5 separate regions of the Homo sapiens genome follow, and regions 2, 3, 4 and 5 are each linked to region 1. Evidence: promoter capture Hi-C in human tissues and cell types (Jung and others, 2019). All regions are on one chromosome and are shown on one strand. The core of a region is centred on a gene start or on the middle of the fragment in contact, and the rest is flanking DNA. Distances in the headings are between cores, read along the strand shown.

What was found. The method cuts DNA at HindIII sites, captures the fragments that hold promoters and counts their contacts. A contact is called where the count stands out against the background at its distance.
Region 2: a contact is called between a fragment that was not itself captured here and the fragment with the promoter of UNC80 in region 1, in 2 of the 25 tissues and cell types used here (H1 embryonic stem cells and dorsolateral prefrontal cortex).
Region 3: a fragment that was not itself captured here is called in contact with the fragment with the promoter of UNC80 in region 1 in 3 of the 25 tissues and cell types used here (dorsolateral prefrontal cortex, hippocampus and pancreas).
Region 4: a contact is called between a fragment that was not itself captured here and the fragment with the promoter of UNC80 in region 1, in 2 of the 25 tissues and cell types used here (mesendoderm cells and thymus).
Region 5: a contact is called between a fragment that was not itself captured here and the fragment with the promoter of UNC80 in region 1, in 2 of the 25 tissues and cell types used here (bladder and hippocampus).

The regions. Positions count from the first base shown.
Region 1 is chr2:209,770,392-209,773,249 of GRCh38, forward strand. UNC80 (unc-80 subunit of NALCN channel complex) reads left to right here and starts at 1,441. Exons shown (of 65, transcript NM_001371986.1): 1 at 1,441-1,773; 2 at 2,703-2,751. The coding sequence starts at 1,682. The HindIII fragment of the contact is 3,928 bases long and covers 48-2,858 here.
Region 2 is chr2:209,660,156-209,663,013 of GRCh38, forward strand. The region is part of intron 5 of MAP2 (microtubule associated protein 2); the gene reads left to right. Among named protein-coding and RNA genes, the nearest start is that of UNC80, 110 kb to the right of the region's middle. The HindIII fragment of the contact is 3,752 bases long and covers 1-2,858 here.
Region 3 is chr2:209,680,928-209,683,785 of GRCh38, forward strand. The region is part of intron 7 of MAP2 (microtubule associated protein 2); the gene reads left to right. Among named protein-coding and RNA genes, the nearest start is that of UNC80, 89 kb to the right of the region's middle. The HindIII fragment of the contact is 3,730 bases long and covers 1-2,858 here.
Region 4 is chr2:209,698,383-209,701,240 of GRCh38, forward strand. MAP2 (microtubule associated protein 2) reads left to right here. Exons shown (of 16, transcript NM_001375505.1): 11 at 1,895-1,956. Among named protein-coding and RNA genes, the nearest start is that of UNC80, 72 kb to the right of the region's middle. The HindIII fragment of the contact is 5,822 bases long and covers 1-2,858 here.
Region 5 is chr2:209,839,552-209,842,409 of GRCh38, forward strand. It overlaps UNC80 (unc-80 subunit of NALCN channel complex), which reads left to right. Exons shown (of 65, transcript NM_001371986.1): 20 at 991-1,097; 21 at 2,799-2,858. Among named protein-coding and RNA genes, the nearest start is that of UNC80, 69 kb to the left of the region's middle. The HindIII fragment of the contact is 4,031 bases long and covers 1-2,858 here.

The DNA of each region.
Region 1 (2,858 bases), core at 191-2,690:
TTAGAATCTTTCTTTGTTTCAAGATCCATATTTGAGATCATAAGATCCATATTTTTGAGATTCATAATAAAAGATAACTTCAAGAAAGTAAATGAAGAATTTATTTCTATGGCAAAAAATATTGATATATACTATGCTGTTAATTATATATGAAATATTACATCTGTTGAGATTAGGACCTGGAGTCTGATTCTTCATTTCATGGATTACACCAATATCTTTGCTCTAAAAGATGAGGCCAGGCATGGTGGCTCATGCCTGTAATCCCAGAACTTTGAGAAGCCAAGGTGAAAGGATTGCTTGAGCCCAGGAGTTTGAGACTAGCCTGGGAAACATAGTGTGACCCCCATCTCTACAAAAATAAAAAATTAGCTGGGAGTAGTGGTGCACACCTGTAGTCCCAACTGTTGGGGAGACTGAGCTGAGAGGATCTCTTGAGCCTGGGAGGTCAAGGCTGCAGTGAGTCGTGATCACACGTCTGCACTCCAGCCTGGTTGAAGAGCGAGATTCCGTCAAAGAACAAGAAAGAAGAAAGAAGGAGAAGGAGGAGAAGAGGAGGAGGAGGAGAAGGGGGAGGAGGAGGAGGAAGAAGGAGAAGGAGGAGGGGGAGGAGGAGGAATTGCAGGTAGTTACTATTCCGATTGCTTCACCCCACCTCACCCCCCTCCCCGGCCTACTTGTTTTACTCCTAGATAATATATCTAACAGCAATCCAACTATAAAATATTAATATATGTAACATATAAGCATTTGACTATTACAACTGAAGGAAAATGGTAGCTATCACTGGGGGCGAACAGGATCACCCAAGTGCATTTAATGGACTGTAATAAACCACATTTCCTCACAGCATGATTCAAATGTTCTTCCTCAATTTGCAATTAACTGATATCCACAACTGGTTACTTTGGGAACTTTGTATTCCTGCTTTAGGAAAACAAACAAGGTTTATTTCTTGTGGTTATCATATAAAAATAACTTCTCATATCTAAGATCTTTCAAGCTTCCTCTCACTTGCCAACCTTGCCTCACCTTCCTGGTTTACACTTCTAATAATTTTCATGTGTTCCTCCGGCTAACCCCTGGACTCCTGATCTCCTTGCTGGAGGTGAGAATGATGCCAGGGTTAGCGACTGCTCTGCGGTTCCCCAAAGCTCCTCCTACCCAGACGGCGACAGTTTGGATGCTGAGGTTGGAAAGCAGGACAGGGGACACTCCTGAGTGCAGCTCGGAGCGGGGAAAGCCGAATTCCGGGGGCTGAAGAGGCCGCGCAGGGGACGAGCGCCTGCGATGCGGAGCGTGGACTTCTTGGGCCGTACCCCTGCGGCTCAAGCTGCCCCGGATTCGCTTCTCCGGCCGTGCAGCCCGGCGCGGGCCGCTGTCCACAGTGGGAGGTGCTGAAAGCAGGGAGCGGGTGCGGGGGCGGCGAGGCGGACCGCTGCTCCGAGCGCCCCCCTCCTCGCTCCGCGGCTCCTCCAGCCCTCCCCTCCTCCCGCAGCCATGTTCCACGCGCGGGGAGGGGTGGGGGGAGGGGAGAGGCACGGGGGATCAGGGCGGAGAGAGCCGGCTCTGCCTCGGGGAAGGAGGGGATGAGAGTTGGGAGCAGCGGGAGGAGGCGGCGGCGGCGGCTAGCGAGGAGACAGAGCTGGGTCCTGCAGTAGGACTCCCGGGAGCCACCATTATGGTGAAGAGGAAGAGCTCCGAGGGCCAGGAGCAGGACGGCGGCCGCGGCATCCCCCTGCCCATCCAGACCTTCCTGTGGCGGCAAACCAGGTGAGGGGCGCAGAGGGCGCACCGCGGGCCGCCCTGGGCTGGGGGCGCTCCTGGGGCCGCCCGGGTCGCCGCTGCCGCCGCCGCCGCTGAGGCCGCGCCACAGCCTGCAGCTCCCTCTCTGGGGCTGGAAAACAAGCCCTCTGCACCAGCTTAAAAACACGCATTAAAATATGTATATATATGTATATATTTCAGTGAAGTTTGACGACAAGCAGATTGGCAGTTGTCGCATAAATGTATACATTATTTTAGGGGGTGGGAGGGCAGAGAGCCTGGGAAGAGGGGGCGGGGAGCTAGATAATTATGACTGGTTGTGCTCCTGCGTCCAATTCCCCCTCCATCTCCTGCTGTAATTCTAGCCCAGTGACCTGTTGTTTTTCCAGCTCCTGTTTGGCGAATATCTGCTATGCCCACTTGTTAACCGTTTTGCTCAGATTAATCTCCCCAGTTAAATCTCCTGAGGATTTGTGATAAGGGACCTTCCCCCACAACCCCGGAAAGGCCTGACACCTATTCCAATAAACAGAAAAGGTTTTCTTTATTATTGTTATTTTAGAGATTTATCAGATAAGATATTAGATTCTGGAAATTATGACCCATAAGCCGTGTTCAATTTTCAGTTTTTATTATGACTGTACACGTAAGTAATGCACCACTTCTGACCACTGGCGATTTAAAATCTTAGAAGTCTTCAGATTAAGAGTGGATACCGAAAACCATCGAGATCCACTTCTCTTTCATATATGCAATTACACGTGTAAAAGAAAATGTCATCAGCTGTTCAACACCTGCTCATTAAAAAGCTATAAGGAAGCATGAAATTTGAATTTCATAGCATCCTGTCTTATTCATTGAAAAATACGTCACAAGGATGCTTTAATAATAATTTTACTTATGTTTATTAACAAATATCTCTATTAATTTTTCAGTGCATTTTTGAGGCCCAAACTGGGGAAGCAATATGAAGCTTCTTGTGTGGTATGTGATTTTCACCATTTAATAATTATTTCCCTATTCTGTGTGGTGGTTTGAACCCAAAGACAGATTTTAAATCAAACGGACTATATATATTAATTCACTTGGCA
Region 2 (2,858 bases), core at 204-2,703, 110 kb before region 1:
TTTACCAGGATTCCTTTGTCTCCCCATCATTTCCAGGCATGCTATCCAGACCTACCCACTGCCAAAGAGGCAGGAATGGAAAAGCTTTTCCAGGCTTTGCGTTGTCACTTTTTCAGGGAGCTCACCATGGGAGCTATGTCTTATAAAATCTGGCCCTATACTATCACATCCACATAACTCCAGCAGCCAAGTGACCAACACTCAGTTATATACATTTATTGTTGCTGCAATTTTTTTTTTTTTTTTTTTTTTTTTTGAGATGGAGTCTCGCTCTGTCGCCCAGGCTGGAGTGCAGTGGCGCGATCTCGGCACACTGCAAGCTCCGCCTCCCGGGTTCACGCCATTCTCCCGCCTCAGCCTCCCAATAGCTGGGACTACAGGCGCCCGCCACCAAGCCCGGCTAATTTTTTTTGTATTTTTTAGTAGAGACGGGGTTTCACCGTGTTAGCCAGGATGGTCTCTATCTCCTGACCTCGTGATCCGCCTGCCTCTGCCTCCCAAAGTGCTGAGATTACAGGCGTGAGCCACCGTGCCCGGCCTGCTGCAATTATTATTATTATTATTATTATTATTATTATTATTATTATTATTATTTTGAGACCGAGTCTCGCTCTGTCGCCCAGGCTGGAGTGCAGTGGCGCGATCTCGGCTCACTGCAAGCTCCGCCTCCCGGATTCACACCCATTCTCCTGCCTCAGCCTCCCGAGTAACTGGGACTACAGGTGCCCGCCACCACGCCCGGCTAATTTTTTGTATTTTTTTTTTTTTTTAGTAGAGACAGGGTTTCACTGTGTTATCCAGGATGGTCTTCATATCCTGACCTCGTGATCCGCCCGCCTCGGCATCCCAAAGTGCTGGGATTACAGGCGTGAGCCACCACACCCGGCCTGTTGCTGCAATTATTAAGTTTGAAAACACATGAAGGAAAAGTTTGGCAGCTCTCACATGCAAAAAGCTGCATATGCCTTTAAATAAAGCTTTTCTCTCTGTTCTGCTTTTCAATCTCAGAAGATTCAAATCTATCTTTTCTCACCTCGCCCTTTCTCCCCTGCCTCCGTTTCTAGATTTGCGATTTACTAATAGGAGTCAGCATCCCATTTAAAATATGGCCTATTCTATGTAATATATTAATTTATGCGGAGCAAAATAGCACTGAGCCATTTCTCCTGCAAAATGACTAAAGCCATCCACACCAACCCCCCAAGCAAATAAACAAGCTCGCCTAACAATGCGAGAGGTTGCAGATTTTCCTTTCCTAGTTGCCATGCCAACCACTCATTGCTCTGGCTGCCATTTCCCTGAGCTCCGCAGAGAGAGGAGTGTGCAGAGCAGAGTTATTTAGCATTCAAGGGTGGATCTGCAGAAAATCACACAGCCTCACTGCGAAGCATCTGGGCCTGGTGGCACCGATGGATGAGGACAGAAAATGGGGATCTTTTCAGTGTTTTCCTTCTAAAGGTTAGGCATCCGGGGCTAGAAAGAGTGAGAAAGACAAGGATTGATAGAAAAGGCAGTTCCACGAGGTTTGTATTGTCACGTTTGCTTTGTCCTATGTGGTCTCTCTACTAGGTGAAGCTGGTTGTGGGGATTAGCTTCAATCATAATATTTGGCTTGGCTTGTTGATGAATAGGATTTGAACCTAATTTAGGGCTAGCTTATATGGATATTATAATAAAGAATTGTGTCTTTTATTCTTGATACAATATGAGGTTGTATATAGCAGGTATTGCCAGCCACAGCGTTTGATATTTTACAAATTAGAGGAAAAAAACCAACATCAGATAAAGTTTTGTTTCATTGTACAGCTATAAGGTAGTTTGTCCCATAAAAATCTGTCTTTGCTCTGTAGTCCAGTCTTAAGGTAGGATGAGATTTTCTTAAGACGGTAATTCTTAATCGATATATGAGGAAAACTTGGTTTCTCAAGACTTGTTTCCATTAAACCCTATGACTCAACAAATTAAGGTATGATTTTATTCCTTGGAATTTTAATTGCCTACAAACACTTCAAGTTGTGAAGAGCAAGGCTCTATCTAACACAATATAATAGGATATTTAAAAACTGAGGTTAATTGCATTCACATGTACTTCTATGTGTGTTCCTCAAGAAAATTCCTCCCATGCACTGTGGAAATCAGTCTCGTTTCTTGTCTCGCTTTGTGCTAAATGTCAGAACTACATCACAAGCGCAAAAAGTATTTCCTCAGACGTTTTGGTCCACTGACATTTTAAAAATTATTTTGTTGAATTTGAATCTTAACGAAACAGATTTTTGCCAATGACAATTCAGACCTATTTATGAAAATTATTCTTTCTAGTTTGTTTTTAAGTGCAAATATAATTTAATTATCATTGTAATTTTTACTTGACCTTTCTCTCATCCCATTTTTTCCAAGATCTTGTTAAGTTTTCTCTCCTCTAATATGCTGTCATGTTTTGTCATCATATTTTTCTTTTAATGTTTTTCAATTTTTTTGAGATTTAAAAAACCTCCATTTAGATAAAAATTTAAAACAATTCTTAAATTCTTTTTTTATTTTTAGCAAACAGATGAAAGTAATAAGTAATGGGAGTGAGTCTTCTAGACTCATTTTTGGACTGTCTAAGCCTTTGTTTTGGTTAGGATTATGCATGGCCTTTATCTGTCCTTTGTTATATTTCGGAGTATTTTCTCCTCACAAAAGAGAAAAAGAAAAAAAAGATAAGATAAAAAATCTAATACTTTTGAACAAATAAATTGCTCAAATATCTTGAGACTATATTTCTTATCAAGCAATAATGTGTTTTTAAGTGTGAGATATATATATATATACACACATATATATATTCTTTGATTATATTACTTGTGTAGGTCTGA
Region 3 (2,858 bases), core at 248-2,747, 89 kb before region 1:
CAAGCTTTGGAGCTATCTGTTTCAAATAATGAAGAAGAAACAAAGACTTTAAATAAATAATCACTTATTTTTATAAAAGCAAAAGTAGAGGAATTTGGTAAATAAAAAAGAAATCTGCTTGATTAAGGAAAAGAATTTTGTGTTCAGTTGCTAAAATAACTGTAGAGACCCCATTCACTTTAGAATGCTTTAACAGGGAAGATACAATTCTACCTTGTAAGTGACTGAACAAAAATTAAAATAAATATAAATGTAATCTCCATAATAGTAGGGGTCAGATTTATCAATGAAATCAACACTTCCTTATGAAAGTGTCAGGAATTATCTCTGTTTTGCTCACTGTTATATTGCCAAGACCTTCCCCAGGGCCTGACTCATAGCAAATTTAATAAATATTAATGAATAAATGAAGAAGTTAATGAATGAATCTGATATTGAGAGCATTGAACTGGAAGCTGAGCTCATGACTCTTTCCTGTTGAGACCTGTTATTGTCCATGGATCTTTTTATGAACTTACTCAACATGGAATGTCATGTTAGCTTTTCAATTCTCATTGATACAACAGAAAGATGCCTTTGAAGAATTTTCATTCAGAATCTGAGATGAAAGGCACTACTTAAAAGGAAACCATTACTGGTTCTCCGACTTAGTCCAGTTAACCTTTGTTTATTGTTTGAGAGTCACAGGAAAAGGCAGAGAAGAACTAGGGCTCCATTGTTGTTTCAACATTACTTAGTTTTCATATATTAAAACCAGAATTTTAAAAGTGTTTATTTTATTCATTTATTCATTTATTTTTCCTTTTTACTGTGTTAAAGACTGAAGAACATTTATTTTAAAAGACTTGTCTTTTTATCATTTGTAATTAGGTTCATTTAAAATATTCTTTGATTTCGTAAATACAAAAATTTGAATTAGTGAACCATATATTATCACCTCTAATATAATTTTATTTTGTCACAGATTTATAAACCTAAATTTATTTTAGCAAGGTTTTTCTTTCTTAAATTGAAGCTTTTTTTTTCCAATTTACTGCCTGAAATAATAAACAAACTAAATTTTTCTGAGGAATAAAAGAAACTTTGGGGATAATAATCAGTGCATAGCAGCCACTGATTATTAGTTAATGTGATTTAATCTTTTAATTTATAGGTTTGAAAAGTTCCTTTTGACCTTATGTTTATCCATTCACTGGGCACATATTTATTGAGCCCTACAGTCTTCCAGGTACTCTTCAAATTCTGAGTATATACTAGTGAACAAAACAGACATGATCCCTGCTTTTAAAGAGTACACTATAGCCGGTAATCCCAGCACTTTGGGAGGCCGAGGCGGGCAGATCACTTGAGGTCAGGAGTTCAAGATCAGCCTGGCCAACATGGTGAAAACCCGTCTCTACTAAAAATACAAAAATTAGCCAGGCATGGTGGCGTACGCCTATAATCCCAGCTACTCGGGAGGCTGAGGCAGGAGAATCACTTGAACCCAGAAGGCGGAGGTTGCAGCGAGCCAAGATGGCACCATTACACTGTAGCCTGGTGACATAGCGAGACTCCATCTCAAAATAAATAAATAAATAGTACACTATCTAGTGGAGAACAGAAATCCAATAAATAAGCTTACCAATAATTTCAAATTGGATTAGCATTGAAGAGGAAAAGAATAGGGAGCTTTAAAATATTACAAGAGAAACCTGATTTTATTGGGTGGTGAGGGGATGGCTAAGTAGCTGAGACCAGAAGCATGAGGAGGAAGTGTTGGCCAAATAAAGATAGAAAAAAGCACAAGGGCGCTCAGGTGCCCAAGAAGATGAAGTGACCCAGGAACTGAAGGGGGTCCGTGGCTGATGGGTAGTGAGAAAGGGTAGAGCAGTGGAGTGTGAGAGTAAGCAGTGGTCAGCTGGGGTCAGTGGCCTAGATTTCATTCTGAATGCAGCGGGAAGCCTGACATGACCCTTGTACCTCCTTCAGGCCATGGAAAATGTTTCTAAGCTCCTACTTAAAGCTTTTCAAGCATCAGAGAATCCTCTTAACCCAGAGAGGGATATGATGTTGACAGAGCAGGTTTACTCCAAAAGTCGGCTTGAGGTCAAGTCATTTAATCTTCTTACTCTATATGGGATTTGGAACAGAAAGGGAAGAAGCAGAGTCCTCCCATCCATCTGGGAATTCACCCAGCCTGCTTCCTGTAGGGTAATATGATGGATATAATGAAAACATAAATAAATAAAATGTAGAATCACCTTCACATTTTGGTAACTTAGGTGTCAACTTTCCAGAGTTCCCTAATATTTTGGAATTACTTTCTTCAAGCTGTTTCAAGATATTCAAGGAAAATACCACCTAACCTCTTATTGAAAGTAATTCAAAGTTATTTTCAAGCCAAACTTGTGTTTTTAACTTTTTGAGTATTGAACTATCTGAAGTTCTGATTATTTGATTTTAAAAGTATAACCATTTTTTGAGTTTTAAGAAAAACAGATGTATATATTTTATAAACTCTATCTCTATAAAGACCAGATAATATTCTCACCTTAAATATGTAAAAGATTTGTGGTCTAGACAAACTACTGTTTCTCTTTTATGTTAAGCCACACTTAAGTAATATACAAGTATTTTTTAAGTTTAGTTTTGTCAGAAAATAAATTAGTGACAAGTCACAAGACAGGATTGAACTGTTCAATTTTTCAAACCAAGTAGTTTGTAAATACTCAGCCCAAATTCCATCAATATATTGCTTATAGCAGGTCAGGTGGAAAGGGAGCAGGTGGATTTTTTTGCCTTATCTAGGGGATTATTTACCCTCCTTGATACCCTCAAAGCAACTTTAATCTGAGGGTATAGTGACTGCTGCAGTC
Region 4 (2,858 bases), core at 201-2,700, 72 kb before region 1:
AGTCTACAAAATGACAGATTGCTAAATCAGAAAAGAATGTTTTTCTTTCCATTGTACATCATCAATGCCTCTATATAAATCTTCGGATGGTTTTAAAGGTTAAGAGGAACATTAGCCTTTGTGAGAAAGAGAAAATCAAGGTAACTGATGGTTTTATTTTAGCCATTGAAAATTCCAAGTATTTTGTATTTGTGTTCTTCATCTAGAAATCATATCATGTGCTTTCCTTCAAAAACAAGAATCTAAGGCAGGATTTGAAAATAGAAGGCTTGTATATACGCACACCTTGATAAAGCTTCAGGATGAAGAATATATCTGAAGCTAGGAGTTAGGAATTAACGTGACATACCTCAATTCATTTTCTCAGGTTTTTAGCTTCATTAAACTTAGAACTTCATTAAACTTAATAGCAAATTAATAGCTTCATTAAACTTAGTAGCAAAATTGCTTGGGCAAGCAGAATCTCTTGATTTAGCATAAAAACTCTATAACCTACCTAAAAGGATGAAAGATGTCATCAGGATTGTGGAATTTTAGAGAAAACGTAAAATGGTTTAGTAAAGTGTTTACATGTCATTGGTATTCAATTTGCCACATTTAAAGTAAATTGTGTTTTTATTCATTCTTTGAAAGAAATTTAAAATCTTTGAACTAATGAAGATTTTCCTTTATTCTGGTCTAATGTTAAGATACTTTAGGAGAAAGCATGTATCAGATGTAGGTGTCATTGGTTTGAAGCAAGCTATACATGTCACAAGAATTTGAGTTATATTACAGAGATAGTAGTAAGGCATCGTTTTCACTGCTTCCTTAAAAACAATGAGTCCTAGAATCTGAAAAATCTCACTAGCTAGTCCTACATGGCATAAAGCATATTGTAGACAGTTATTATGTTTGTGTCAGAACTGTACCTGTCATAAAAATACCTTTTTAGAACTTATTCAGAGGGCTTATAAGGATACATTTTTTTTCTGAGGGTTTCTATTTTATGAATGAAAATTAAGGAGGAATAAACACACAAGCTTGATTATTTTATCTTCTAAGCCCAATTTTCAAACATAGATGGTTTTCCAAACCACAAGGGATTGTTTTAAATCATGAGAGCTAAGCTACCTCAGGTAAGTCATCAACCAAAATGTGCTAGAGATAATGGAGTTTAAAATTGAATCCAGAAGCATAAAACAGCAGCAAGAGAAACAACAGTAACAGATGTGGTAATAATTTCATACAGGAAGTGCATGTGTAGAACATGTTCTGTATTTACTGAACTTAAATTTTCTCTCGTGTTTTCTGTTCTTGACAAGCTATTTTTCTTCCCTTCTCATGTGGCATTTTCACATCAAACAAGTATGTCATTCATATTGTGAAATGAAGGGATACAAAGGGAAAGGGGTTAGCTGATCATGACAGTTTGAAATGTAAAATACCGAAATATCTATGGTTATGCCAGTGGCTTCCAGAACAAGAAGAGGGTTTGGAAATCTCTATGAACCCTCTTCTATATATCATGTGAACCCCAGAAACCAATCAGTGTTCTTTTTCTTAAATTTTGCAACATTCACATTGCTATTCTGTAACTTCTGTTCTAAAGGATCTCCTTACGTACTAGTGATTCAAAGATACATTGGTAATCAATAGAAAAATTACGTGGTGTGCTTACCTGCACTTTGGTAGACAATGGGTTATATTAATTAGCACACACTATTTGTTGGAGCCACATGCTATGTTATTGTTATTCATGTTACTTGAGTTATTGAATTTGAGTCTCATAATAAGCAAACTTTTGCTTTGCATTAGTCTGTTGACACAACAGAATATCCTACAGGTATTTAAAACTGCATTTATGACTTTTTAGCAACTAAGTTTGGGGTTGTTTGTCTTTTATTTTCAACAGCAGCAGGTGGGGAATCAGCTCTGGCTCCCAGTGTATTTAAACAGGCAAAGGACAAAGTCTCTGTGAGTAAAATAAGTTTTTCCTTGTTCTTCATTTGAAGTTCCTTTGGTATTAGCTGTAACATCAGAATAACTTTTGATATTGTTTAGATATTTACTCTTAAAAGTCACTTTAAATAGTTCGCTCACCCAGAAGATTCTCCGTGGCATCCAGGCATGGAAGGATGAACGTCTTCTGGGATGGCGTATGATGGTAATTGGTGAGGGCACAGCTGGACTGCTTCCTTACTAGTAAGACAAAAACATAGAAAGCAGCACAATGATATGGCAAAAGTAAGGAAGTCCAGTTTAGTTACTTTTCATAGAATCAAATTAAACCATATAATCAACAGTAACTGTATTTTATAATACACTTTCATTGTTTTTGTTACAAAATAGAAATATGACCAAATGAAGCACTGCACACAAGCAGAAAGAAGTAGAAATCAATTATAATCCTCTTATCATAAAGATAAACACAGCTATCATTTTGATGTAAAATCCTAATTTTTTTCTATACATTTATAGGCTTAACAACAAAAATGAGAACACTGTGTATCACTTTTTAAATTCAACAGTAAATGTACTTCCATGTCGTTGAACATTTTGTAAGTTTTAATGACTACGTAATACTGCATTTTATTTCTTTGCAATGATATACTTAATCAATTTCCTATTATTTGACTTTTAGAATTTTTTGTTGGTATTTTAACAATATTACTGTAGAGAACTTTTTGGCTAAGTTCAGTTTGTATGCTATTTCCTTCATTTTCTACTAGTGAAATTATTGTTTCAAGAAAAATGTTAATATTTAAAGTTTTTGCTGCATATTGTCAAATTGCCCTCTGGAAAGGTTCTACCCACTTATACATTCTGTATAAGGAGAGTGTTCATATTTGTTATTATTACTACATATTTTATATTGT
Region 5 (2,858 bases), core at 1-2,500, 69 kb after region 1:
TTCATTCATTCATTCATTTAATTTTTCCCACAGTATTTTTCAATACCCTACTATGTGCCTCTTCTGTGTGCAATCACTACACTAGCCATCAAGGATTAAATAGCAAGCAAATACACACAGCCTCCTAACTTTGCTAAACTTGTAATATAGTAGGAGCCCCAGTCATTAAAGCGGATAATCATACAACTAAGTGTAATTGCAAACTATGAATTTTATGAAGGAAATATACATAGTTCTACGAAAGCATGCAACAATGAGACCTGACCTGAATGTGGGGGAGGAGGCAGAAATCAGGGAAGGCTTCCTAGTGGTAGTGGCATTAAGATCTCCGGGATACTTGGGAGAAGGAAGGAGAGCACTCCAGGTAGCCATTATTTGCAAAGATATTAGGAGGCTGAAGGGAAGTGAAGGAACTGAAACAAGGGGACAAGTGGCGGTATGACTATAGTAGAATGATAGGGGCCAGATCAGGTTGACTCTTCATTCTAGATCCCTAGATAGCCAAGATGGGATGTTGAACAGGAGAGTAACTCAAGCAAGTAAACTTTTTGCAAAACTTCACTGCATGGAAATCATACTGGAGGGAGCATAAGTAGATAAGGGAGACCAGAAGGAAAGTTAGCTAGTAGGTGAGGTATAAGTAAATGGAAGCTTGGACTGGGTGGTGGCCATGTAGGCAGAGATAAATGAACACATTTGAGAAGTATTTAAGAGGTAAAATTCACAGGCTTTAATGAGAGATGTGAAGCTGGATAGATGATGGTTTCCTTTCAACCCAGATTCTTTTCGTCTTGGTCCCACATGCTTATGCAATTTTATAGTCTAACACTGAACATTTTTATTCAAAGCATGTACATTGAAAACAATTTGTTTTTCTATTTATACCAAGCCATGTAACTTTCATCGCTTGTTGGGCTTATGTTGACATTTCTGTTTAATTGATTGGATAGAAAATGCTACATTGATCTAAGTGATTTAACTATTAAATAGGGAACTGGCTGAAGAGATCATCCCTCTCAGGCCTGGCAGATGGTGTGGAGGACCTCCTGGACATTAGCTCTGTGGACCGACTCTCTTTCATCAGGCAAAGCTCCAAGGTAAACAGGACATAACTTGTGTAAGTGACTGTTGAAGTCGCTGATACAAACATGTGAAGGCTGAGAAATAGCAAACACCTGCAGGGGCCAAATAAGGAAAAGCTGAAGAAACTCTCCAGATGAGCTAACTTTGGAAACTTAGATAAGCAATGGAAACTAAATTGTTTAAGTAGTAGGCTATCATAGGAAGGGAAAAAGAAAAGTGTGGTCAAAAAATTATATAAAATTATAATGCAGATATAGGGATGTATATAGACATTATTTCCCAGCTATTTTTAACTTTTAACACACCTATGAAATGACTGACATCTCAAACTCCTGTCCAAGGATCTGGTAATTTTACAGTGATCCCTTTTACATATTAAGACACACATAATTCATCCTTTTCCCACTACTTTTGGCACCATGTGAACCACTGTCTGTATTGAAAAGAAGAAAGAATCTCGGGATGACCTTTTTCACTACACTCCTCCTTCGTAATACTGTGAAGCACTGGAGTAACGTAAGGTTTCTTCTGAGAGTCCACCCTGTGGTTGCTTCATGGCCTGGTCATTTGTATGCCTAATTTTCAGCATATGATAAGAGTTATGTTTCCTTTTATGTGTACAAATTATTTGCTTGCATTCTTTTGTTTTCTAATCTCACTAAAACCAGGGTTGTTTTTGTTTTGTTTTGTTCCTTGTGGGTTTTTGTTGTTGTTGTTGTTGTTTTTGTTTTGTTTTGTTTTTGATGGAGACTCGATCTGTGGCCAGGCTGGAGTGCAGTAGCACAATCTCGGCTCACTGCAACCTCCGCCTTCTGGGTTCAAATGATTCTCCTGCCTCAGCCTCCCGAGTAGCTGGGACTAGTGCGTGCCACCATGCCCAGCTAATTTTATATTTTTAGTAGAGACGGGGTTTCACCATGTTGGCCAGGATGGTCTCGATCTCTTGATCTCGTGATCCACCTGCCTCGGCCTCCCAAAGTGCTGGGATTACAGGTGTGAGCCACCACGCCCAGCCAAACCAGTTTTCTTTTATCTAGTCTGTTTTAAAAGTGATATTTTGAAATTACACAAATAATATGCAAGACTATAGCATATTTAGAAAATATATGTATCATTCCTTCCTTACCTTCTATTTGCTAAAAAACATAAGTCATGTATTTGAGTTTGTGTGGCCCATAGCTTCCTTGCTGTGCGAAAAATTTTGAGTACTGCTGAGCTAAAAGCAAGATGAAGAACATATTTTAATTCTTAGAAAGAGAAACATGTTATTACATTTTTATTATAGTACACTCTATAAATTACCTTATACTGATTCTTTCACAGAGATTTAAAGTATTCTATTTAGCTATCTTTCACTTTGGTCTGATTCTCAATTGTGGTATTTGTAAAGAATGACTATGTCTCGCTATTCATTAATTTCAGTTTGGACTTTATCAGATTTAAACTCTAAGAATATCTCAATTATTTTTATAGCACCTGATTATTTAGCTTTTAATCTGGGACCTGGTTCCTCCTTTTAGTTACAGTGATGTCTTTTTTGGCACATGGGAATGAACTACACTGATGACCAAACTAACCAGATGTGGAAGCCAGAAGAGCAAAGTAATAGTATGAAAATGAGTAAACAACTCATTTTCAAGTCAAGAGTTGATCTAACCACAAAGATTTACCTTTGAATCTTATCTCTCTACTTTCCTTTTTTTTTCTTTTTTCAGGTCAAATTCACTAGTGCTGTGAAGCTTTCTGAAGGTGGGCCAGGAAGTGGCATGGAAAAT